3 separate regions of the Homo sapiens genome follow, and regions 1 and 2 are each linked to region 3. Evidence: promoter capture Hi-C in 16 types of primary human blood cells and fetal thymus (Javierre and others, 2016). All regions are on one chromosome and are shown on one strand. The core of a region is centred on a gene start or on the middle of the fragment in contact, and the rest is flanking DNA. Distances in the headings are between cores, read along the strand shown.

Region 1 (2,700 bases), core at 64-2,563, 220 kb before region 3:
GGTTAAATAAAACTCATCTGATGAGAATTTATGGTTTGTAGAGCATGACTCTCCAGACCCTTTAGATAGGAATTTGGGCAAGATAAGAAAAAAATCAGAGCTTAGTCCTCAAATACCTGTGCTCTGTGTTAGCTTTTTAAACATCGATTACATTTTTTAATACAACCCTGAGAGTGGGTCTTAGAGGCACAATTTGCCAAACAAAAGCCCCCTCGCTCTATTCCTTTTGCCCCAGTTCCTCATATGGAGGTGCCATTTGTGGCGTTCACTCATGTTTGTGTCAGGCCTCTGAGCTCAAGCTAAGCCATCATATCCCCTGTGACCTGCACGTATACATCCAGATGGCCTGAAGTAACTGAAGAATCACAAAAGAGATGAAAATGACCTGTTCCCGCCTTAACTGATGACATTACCTTGCGAAATTCCTTCTCCTGGCTCATCCTGGCTCAAAAGCTCCCCCACTGAGCACCTTGTGACCCCCACCCCTGCCAGCCAGAGAACAACCCCCTTTGACTAATTTTCCTTTACCTACCCAAATCCTATAAAACGGCCCCACCCCTATCTCCCTTTGCTGACTCTCTTTTCGGACTCAGCCCGACTGCACCCAGGTGATTAAAAGCTTTATTGCTCACATAAAGCCTGTTTGGTGGGCTCTTCACAAGGACGCGAGTAAAAGTTTGTCCATCTTCCTCTTTTTAGTGGTGAGGACCCACTTGAAATCACTTGACCAGGCTACTGCGGTGGGTGTGTGGAATGGGGCAGAGGATTTCTGGAACACCTTGTGGAACATGAGGATGAATGATGAAAACCTGTCCGTAGAGCACGGTTGCAGTAGGAGGGTGCCAGGCTGTAAGCAGGGGTTCATGAGCCACAACCTTCCCCTGCTAGGCCTGAGTCCTGAAGTCTCCACTCCTGCATTTGAATGATTAATACCAAGATAATCTGCTTAGCATCCCTCTTTGTCTTGGCTGCCCCCAAGGAAGACATAAAGTCCCTCCCTCCATGTCTGTAACTTTCAAGTGGTTTTCATGTAGAGGAGTTTCATGGATTAGGAAAAGGGAGGGACTGCATTCACCCCAGGCTGCCACCGTTTTCTCAGTTACGCTGCAGTTTTGAACACAGCCTAGGGGTGGAGTGTTGAAGAAGGCCCTTTAAAGAAACCTGAAGTTTTATCAAAAGCTCCAACTGTACAGGGACTTCAGGCTTCAGAATTTCTGCATTTGAGCCAGGTACAGTGGATCACGCCTGTAATCCCAGCACTTTGGGAGGCCAAGGCAGGTGGATCACTTGAGGTAAGGAGTTCAAGACCAGCCTGGCTAACATGGTGAAACCCCATCTCTACTAAAAATACAAAAATTAGCTGGGCATGGTGGCGTGTGTCTGTAATCCCAGCTACTTGGGAGGTGAGGCAGGAGAATCGCTTGAACCCAGGAGGTGGAGTTTGCAGTGAGCCAAGATTGTGCCACTGCACTCCAGCCTGGGTGACAGTGAGACTCCGTCTCAAAAAAAAAAAAAAGATTTTCTGCATTTGAATAGATAAGATCAGCTTGCCAATTTAGGAACAGAGGAAACAGATTTAATGTTAAGTGGTGAGCTGCAGAAAACCACTGTAAACAAAAAATTAAATTCTAAGCCCCCCAAACATCTGTACAGACCCCTCCCCTTAGCCGAGGGCATTTCAAAGTTAACCTGCAAAACCAGTTCAGGCCATGATGAGAAGGGGGAATCAGGTGTGCCTCATTATACCCTTCTCCCTGTTGGAATTCTGGCACAGCTGACCAGCATGAACATCAACACAGAGGCCTTAAGATTGACAGAACAGACTCTCAAGTCTGACAAGAAACATTAACACTCTATTCTCTCTGAAGCCTGCTACGTGGAGGCTTCGCCTGCCTAAAACCTTGGTCTCCACCACCTCTTATTGTAACACAGACACTCCTTTCTATTGATTCTAGAACTTTGATAATAACTCTTTCAACCAATGGCCAATCTGAGCTCAGAAGCTTCCTAAATAATATCAAATACAGTCGTCCCTTGATCTATGTGGGGACTGGTTCCAGGACCAATGGCATATAACCAGATCCCCACATACTCAACTTCCACAGTCAGCCCTGCCAAACCTCCTTGCAGGAAAAGTCAACACTCTGTAAATGTGGGCTTTGCATCCCATGAATACTGTATTTTTCATCCTCATTCGGTTGAAAAAGAGCTGCGTGTAAGTGGACTCATGCCGTTCAAACCTGTGTTGTTCGAGGGTCAACTGTGCAGCGCTATAATCACTGAGTAGCCACAGGGGAGGACAGATCTCCCTCCACAGACTGATTTTGTTTTCCTGAGAACAAGGACCCTCTCCTCCCTCCAGTCACATTGAAACTGGCTTTGCAAAAATTGTAACAGTGAGAAAATTATGGCAGAGGGGGAGATCTGATCTAGCCAACCCCACTCTTGCCTTTAGCCTTCAAGCTGCCTTTAATTATTCCTGGGCTTCGGCCAAGCTAACTTTGAGAGACATTTAGTTTATAGTTTAAATTTTAATAGCCCTTTCCCAAAACTCAATTGCCTTTGTAAAGCTAGTGAGTGACCACCAGGCTAGGAGGAAGAGAAGCCTGGATTCTGCCAAGGAGTACACATAAACAATCACTACCATTATTCCAGAGCTCACAAGACATGCAATTTCCCCACTTACTCCTGCAGATAACA
Region 2 (2,740 bases), core at 25-2,524, 200 kb before region 3:
TCTGTCTCAAAAATAACAAAAACAAAACAAAAAACCCAACTTGTTTAATCTTGGCCGGGCATGGCAGCTTACACCTATTGTATGCCCGGTACTTTGGGAGGCGGAGGTGGGTGGATCATCTGAGGTCAGGAGTTTGTGACCAGCCTGGCCAATATAGTGAAACCCCGTCTCTACCAAAAATACAAAAATTAGCTGGGCGTGGTGGCACATGCCTACAGTCCCAGCTACTCAGGAAGCTGAGGCAAGAGAATCGCTTGAACCCAGGAGGCGGAGGTGCAGTGAGCTGAGATTGTGCCACTGCACTCCAGCCTGGGCAACACAGTGAGACTCCATTTAAAAAATAAAAAATAAAACTTGTTTAATTCTAAACAGGTCCTGTTAAGAATTCCTTCATTATCCTGTCATGCTTCAAGGCCCAGAAAAGGCCTAAGCAAGACTCTTGGTGGGCTTCTGTTATATTCCAGCCTTTGTATAGGGGCCCTGGGTCTTTCAGCTTTTAATATTTAACCTAACCACTCAGTGCCGAAGCAGTTGGCATGGAGGCCTGCCTGTTCAGCTGTTAGTGAGACCTGGCCTGCCACAGTAGAATTTAATTCAAAAGTTGGTATTAGACGATAGACCAGTAGCATACTTCTCAGTTCTTCTGGGTACCTGGATGCCTTCGAGCTATGGCAGGAGCTGCTACACTTATTATAGGGGCTCAAGCCCTTACTTTGGGTCTTAATAAGAGAGATGAAAAAAACAAACTGCTTTTCCTACTCACACCACTCAACACAACACTTCACTTCTGACACCAGATGTCTGTGGGCTTGTCCTCACACACTAAGCAGTTCTACAGTGGATACCAAGTGGGAGTCCTCCCATTCAATTCAATTCTGACACTCTACCTGGGCATAGTGTCAGATCCCACAGGTTAAGGCTTAGTTCTATTTTCACAAGACTGGCCTATTTTCAGACACCAATTGCAAGTAGCAGGTTGTCACCTATGCATCTAACTGAGCAGCTATAAATTGGGGTTCCCACAACCCCGTTCTAATTTGTTAGGAAGTTCACAGAACTCAAGGAAACATTTACTTATGTTTACCAGCTTATTATATTAGTAAGGAATATTACAGAGGATGTAGATGAATAGCCAGGCAGAAGTGATCCATAGGGCAAGGTATGGAAGGTAAGGGGCAATAAGCTTCCATGTCCTGTCCTGCAGCACACCCCCATGGCATCCTGTAAGCATGCCACCCTACAGACAGCTCCATCTATTCAGCAATTCAGAAGCTCTCTGAACCCCATCTTTTTGGAATGTTCTGGAGGCTCATTATGTAGGCATGATTGATCAATCATTGGCCATTGGTAATCAACTCAAGCTTCAGGCCCTCTCTACTCTCCAGTGTTAGAAGGTGGGGCTGAAAGTGCCAAACCTCTAATTGTATGGTTGGTTTCCGTGTCAACCAGCCCCATCCTAAGGCTATCTGGGAACCCCCAGCCACTAATCATCTCACTAGCATACAAAAAGACACTTATCACTCCAGACATCCCAAGAGTTTAGGAGCTGGTATGCCAGGAACCAGGAACAAAAATCAAAATCACAATATCAAAGCATCTGAAGGAAATCAAATGATTTTACCATAAAATATATTTTCTCGACATAGCTCAAGGCAGATATTCAGAAGGGTTGGAAATACAAAAATAACTAAAAAGCTGCCTTTTGTGGGGGAGATTTGCATCTGTAGAGAAATCTGCACTGATGAAGCCAGGCTGTCTCTGAGGCCTTCCCTCATCCAGATCTGGGAAAGATTAAGCGAGAGTCTGACACCTTTAAAGTCTAACAGAAACATTCACCACCTATTCTCTCTCGAGGGCCGCTACCTGTGAGGCTTCATCTACATAACAAGACCCCCTTTGCTAGCCAGCCCTCCTCTTCTTCCCCTCCATAACCTCTGTTGCCGCCATAAACTGATCTAACACTGTAATCTGGTTTTGGCCCTGCTGTGAGCCCCCATTGTTAATGTAACCTCAAGATAGTACATAAGCTTCAGAACCCCACTGGGGAGTGGGGGTAATCACTGCGATTTTCCTTCTGTGGATATTAGTACATTTCTATGTCATTTCTCCTATTAATTTACCTATTGTGAGTTGATTTTTCAGCAGAATTTTCCCTTGCCCCCTAAGTTTTGGTGCTGTGAGCAGGATACTATTGACAGAAAGGTTACATAACAGGCACTATAACTTAAAGAAATTTAAAGTTAGTTTTATCCCGAGTGAAGTTTGAGGACTAATTCTCTGGGAAATACAGACTCAGAACAAACCAAAAATGTCTCCCCAAGTGGGCTACACGAGATAGTATTTATACATTCTGTTACATGGAAATGGAGAAGCAAAGGTGACATTCCTACAATTCTGATTGGTGCTCAGTGACGTTGTACATAAGATAAAGCAAATACGTGGTTAACATATATAGGGTGTGAAAATAAGTAATTCAAAATCTAAGCTTTTGGAACCTTAAAATATTTTGAGCCTTAAGGGAATGTGATTATGGGACCTGAGTCACATAAACTGGCAGCTGTAACCTAGGAAGCTGTAACTTTTGTTTCCCTGATTATACATTAGTCTTTTTTCTTACCTAAATTATTTTGTAAAATGTTGTAAATGAATGAAGGATGCCAGGGAAGACCCCTTCCCTCTCAACTATTGATCTTCATCATAGATTAACTTCCCTCTTTCCTCTCTCACACAAAGATTTCAT
Region 3 (2,831 bases), core at 250-2,749:
CCCATCATTTTAACACCCTGTTCCAATCCCTTCTTTCACAGGATATTTTCTGGAGGTGAAAAGGAATAACTCATTACTTCTCATATTTTCCTGCCCACTTTCTTGCATAAATATTAAAAATAAAGGGGAAGGTAGGGTCCTGAACATCTCCCTAAAAGATAAAAAAGTTATTAAATGTGGTAAACAGAGCCTGGAGACCTAGCTTCTAGTTCTGCACTGACACAGTATCACTGCGTGACCTTGGGCAAATTACTGCAGTTCTGGGCCTCAGTTTCCCTCATCTGAACCCTAATGATGGTTAAGCCCTCTCCGCTCTTAAAGCACAGATTTTAGATACGTCCCCAGGGAAGCACAACTGTGAAGGAGTCGCCCAGACGGACTCCTTGGGCGGAGAAACGGCCTTCCACAAGCTCCGGCGGGGGGATTCACAGGGAGCTCAAGCTGCCCCAGGGAAAGCCACTGGGCAAACTTCAGGTCGCAAACAAAAACCTGTTGGCACCGACTCCTCTAGCAAAGGCCAGCCTCCCAACGCGCTCGGCTCTCGGCTCTAGGGGAGCCGCCCCACAGGGAGAGAGAGGAAGTCTCTCCTGGAAGAGGCCAGACCCCACGCACCCATTCACCCACCCGGATCAGCCGAGCAGGACCGCCGGGCCGGGTGGGTCTCTGCCATCCCACGCGGAACAAAAGGCAGCTGGAGCCTGGCTCTTCCGCCCCCGTCCCCGCTGTTCCGTGGGAGTGGGGGCTGGGGAGTGGGGAGCCTGGTCCCCAAGGACGGAAGGGGGCCCTGCTACAGCCCCCAGGAAAGGTGAGACGGGCGGGATCCCGGACAGAGATAAGGACCCCTCCCCCGATTCCCGGAGGGCGCCCGGACCGGGCTCTGCACGGGGGCTGGCGGGAGACCAGGCTGGGCTCAGGAGGAAGGGGCGCCGGGCTCGGGGAGAGGAGGAACGTGCTCTGGGGAGGGGGCGGGGTTGTTCCAAGATGAACGGGGCTCCAGGATCCGAGGTAGGAGTAAGGGGCGCCCTGGACTCTGGGGACATAAAAGGAGATGCTCGGTGATAGGGACGGGTAAGGGGGGAGATCCTTGCAGCGGAAAGCTGGATCCAGATGGGAAGGGGGCCATGCTCCAGTCCGTGGGGCGGGGCCTGGTTGGAAAGAAGGGGATCCCCCAGAGCCTGGCGTAGGGACCAGCGGGGCGGCAGGGGCGCATGCCCTGGCGGGGCTGGTGAGGTAGGGGAGCCTGTGCTCTGGGGGCGTCCGCGCCCTGGAGAGGGGGAGGGTCCTCGCCCCGGGGACTCGCTCTGGCCTTGGAGCCCCACGGGCTGTGGCTCACCTCTGCTCCTCCGGGCCGGCGTGGGTGCGCCGCTGCGGCCACCGGCAGCGCTCGAGAGGCGGGAGCGACCGTAGCCCGCGGAGCCGCCGCCACCGCCGCGTCTGGCTCAGTTTGACACCCACACACCAGCCAACATGGCGGCCGGGAGGGGGCGCGCCGGACGCGTGCGCGCGCCCTCAGGCCCCGCCCCCGAGGCCCCGAGGTCCCGCCCCCACGCCCGCAGACCACGCCCCTGCGACCCCGCCAGAGCCCCTCCCTAGTGGCCCCTGCGCGGCTTCCCCTCCGCCTCCTGCGCTCCAGGACCCCACGCGGACGACCCACCCTTCCGCAGCGCCCCACAGTCGACGCCCGAGCCCCCAAAAAACCCCCAATCCCGAGCGCCACACAAACCCTGGCAAATTAATACCCGAACGCGCGCACTCTAATCCCCTTCAGGCCACTCCACCCCGTACACACTCACGGCCCCCCCACACTCACGGCCGGGCAGCACGCGCAGACCCCGCCCCGTCAAGCAGAAACTCACGCTCCGGCCTGCCGGTTTCACTCAAAAACCTTGTTCAGTAGGAGAGACTGGAAGGGGGCCAGGGCCTGCCGGGCGCTGGTAGGGTTGGGTTCTTAGGCTACAAGTGTGTTCACTTTATGAAGATGCGCGGAAGTACACTTTGGATTTGTGCGCTTTTCCGTGCGTGTATTTCACGTCAATAAAATATACTCAAAAACGGAGAAGTCTCTAGGCTTCTTTAGGCTGCTCAAGGGGTTACCTAAGGGCACGAATGGCAAGGGGTTACCTACATGGCACGAAAACGGAAACCCTTGACTGGCGGGCACCCACAAAGCACCTCCTCTGTGCCAAGCCCTGTGCTGGGCACAGAAATGAGACAGCCCCAAATGCCTCGAATGAGAGTCCCGGAACTGGAGGGGCCAGAACTGGAGGCTGCACCTCAAAGCTGACTAACCTGCTCCAATCAGGGTGGGAGTCAGCAGAGACTTCTCACAGCAGGGGCGCGGAGCATGAGTCAGGGCTTGCTAGGTGGGCAGAGGGCACCATCCCTGTTGCCTGGGTGACATCAACACTCTGCCTAGCCTTGGCTTCAGGGAAGCTGTGGCCAGAAGTCTTCCTCTGCCCTAACTCACTGAGGGACCTTAAACAAGTCACTGTACTTCTCTGAGCCTCAGATTCCTCCTCCCTGTACAGGAACCAGGGGATGAAAGTATCCCTTAAGGTTCTAACAACCCAGGATCTGGAATTCCATTCTCTGGCAAAAAAAAAAAAGGTTGTATCTTTCCAGGAATTCATCTATTTATTGTAAGTTTTTTAGTGTGTGTGCATAGACGTGTTCATAATAGTTTTTGAGGGCTTTTTTGTGTTTGTATGGGGTCGGTGGTAATGTCCTCTTTGCCCTTTCTGATTATGTTTACTTGTATCTTCTCTTTTTTCTTTATTAGTCTAGCTAGTGATACAATAAATACGATAAAAATGGAGAGAGCTTGTAACACG

The links. The method cuts DNA at HindIII sites, captures the fragments that hold promoters and counts their contacts. A CHiCAGO score of 5 or more calls a contact.
Region 1: a contact is called between a fragment that was not itself captured here and the fragment with the promoter of EPN2 in region 3, in 7 of 17 cell types (total CD8 T cells, neutrophils, endothelial precursors and 4 more). The highest score is 7.7, in total CD8 T cells.
Region 2: a contact is called between a fragment that was not itself captured here and the fragment with the promoter of EPN2 in region 3, in 11 of 17 cell types (megakaryocytes, naive CD8 T cells, total CD8 T cells and 8 more). The highest score is 7.8, in megakaryocytes.

The regions. Positions count from the first base shown.
Region 1 is chr17:19,456,307-19,459,006 of GRCh38, reverse strand. The region is part of intron 1 of LOC105371574 (a long non-coding RNA gene); the gene reads left to right. Among named protein-coding and RNA genes, the nearest start is that of LINC02094, 39 kb to the right of the region's middle. RefSeq lists enhancers at 1-473, 474-1,019. The HindIII fragment of the contact is 1,384 bases long and covers 622-2,005 here.
Region 2 is chr17:19,432,612-19,435,351 of GRCh38, reverse strand. No RefSeq gene overlaps it. Among named protein-coding and RNA genes, the nearest start is that of LINC02094, 16 kb to the right of the region's middle. RefSeq lists an enhancer at 1,617-2,155. The HindIII fragment of the contact is 178 bases long and covers 1,186-1,363 here.
Region 3 is chr17:19,236,034-19,238,864 of GRCh38, reverse strand. EPN2 (epsin 2) reads right to left here and starts at 1,499. Exons shown (of 11, transcript NM_014964.5): 1 at 1,334-1,499. RefSeq lists a silencer at 1,122-1,591. The HindIII fragment of the contact is 5,263 bases long and covers 1-2,831 here.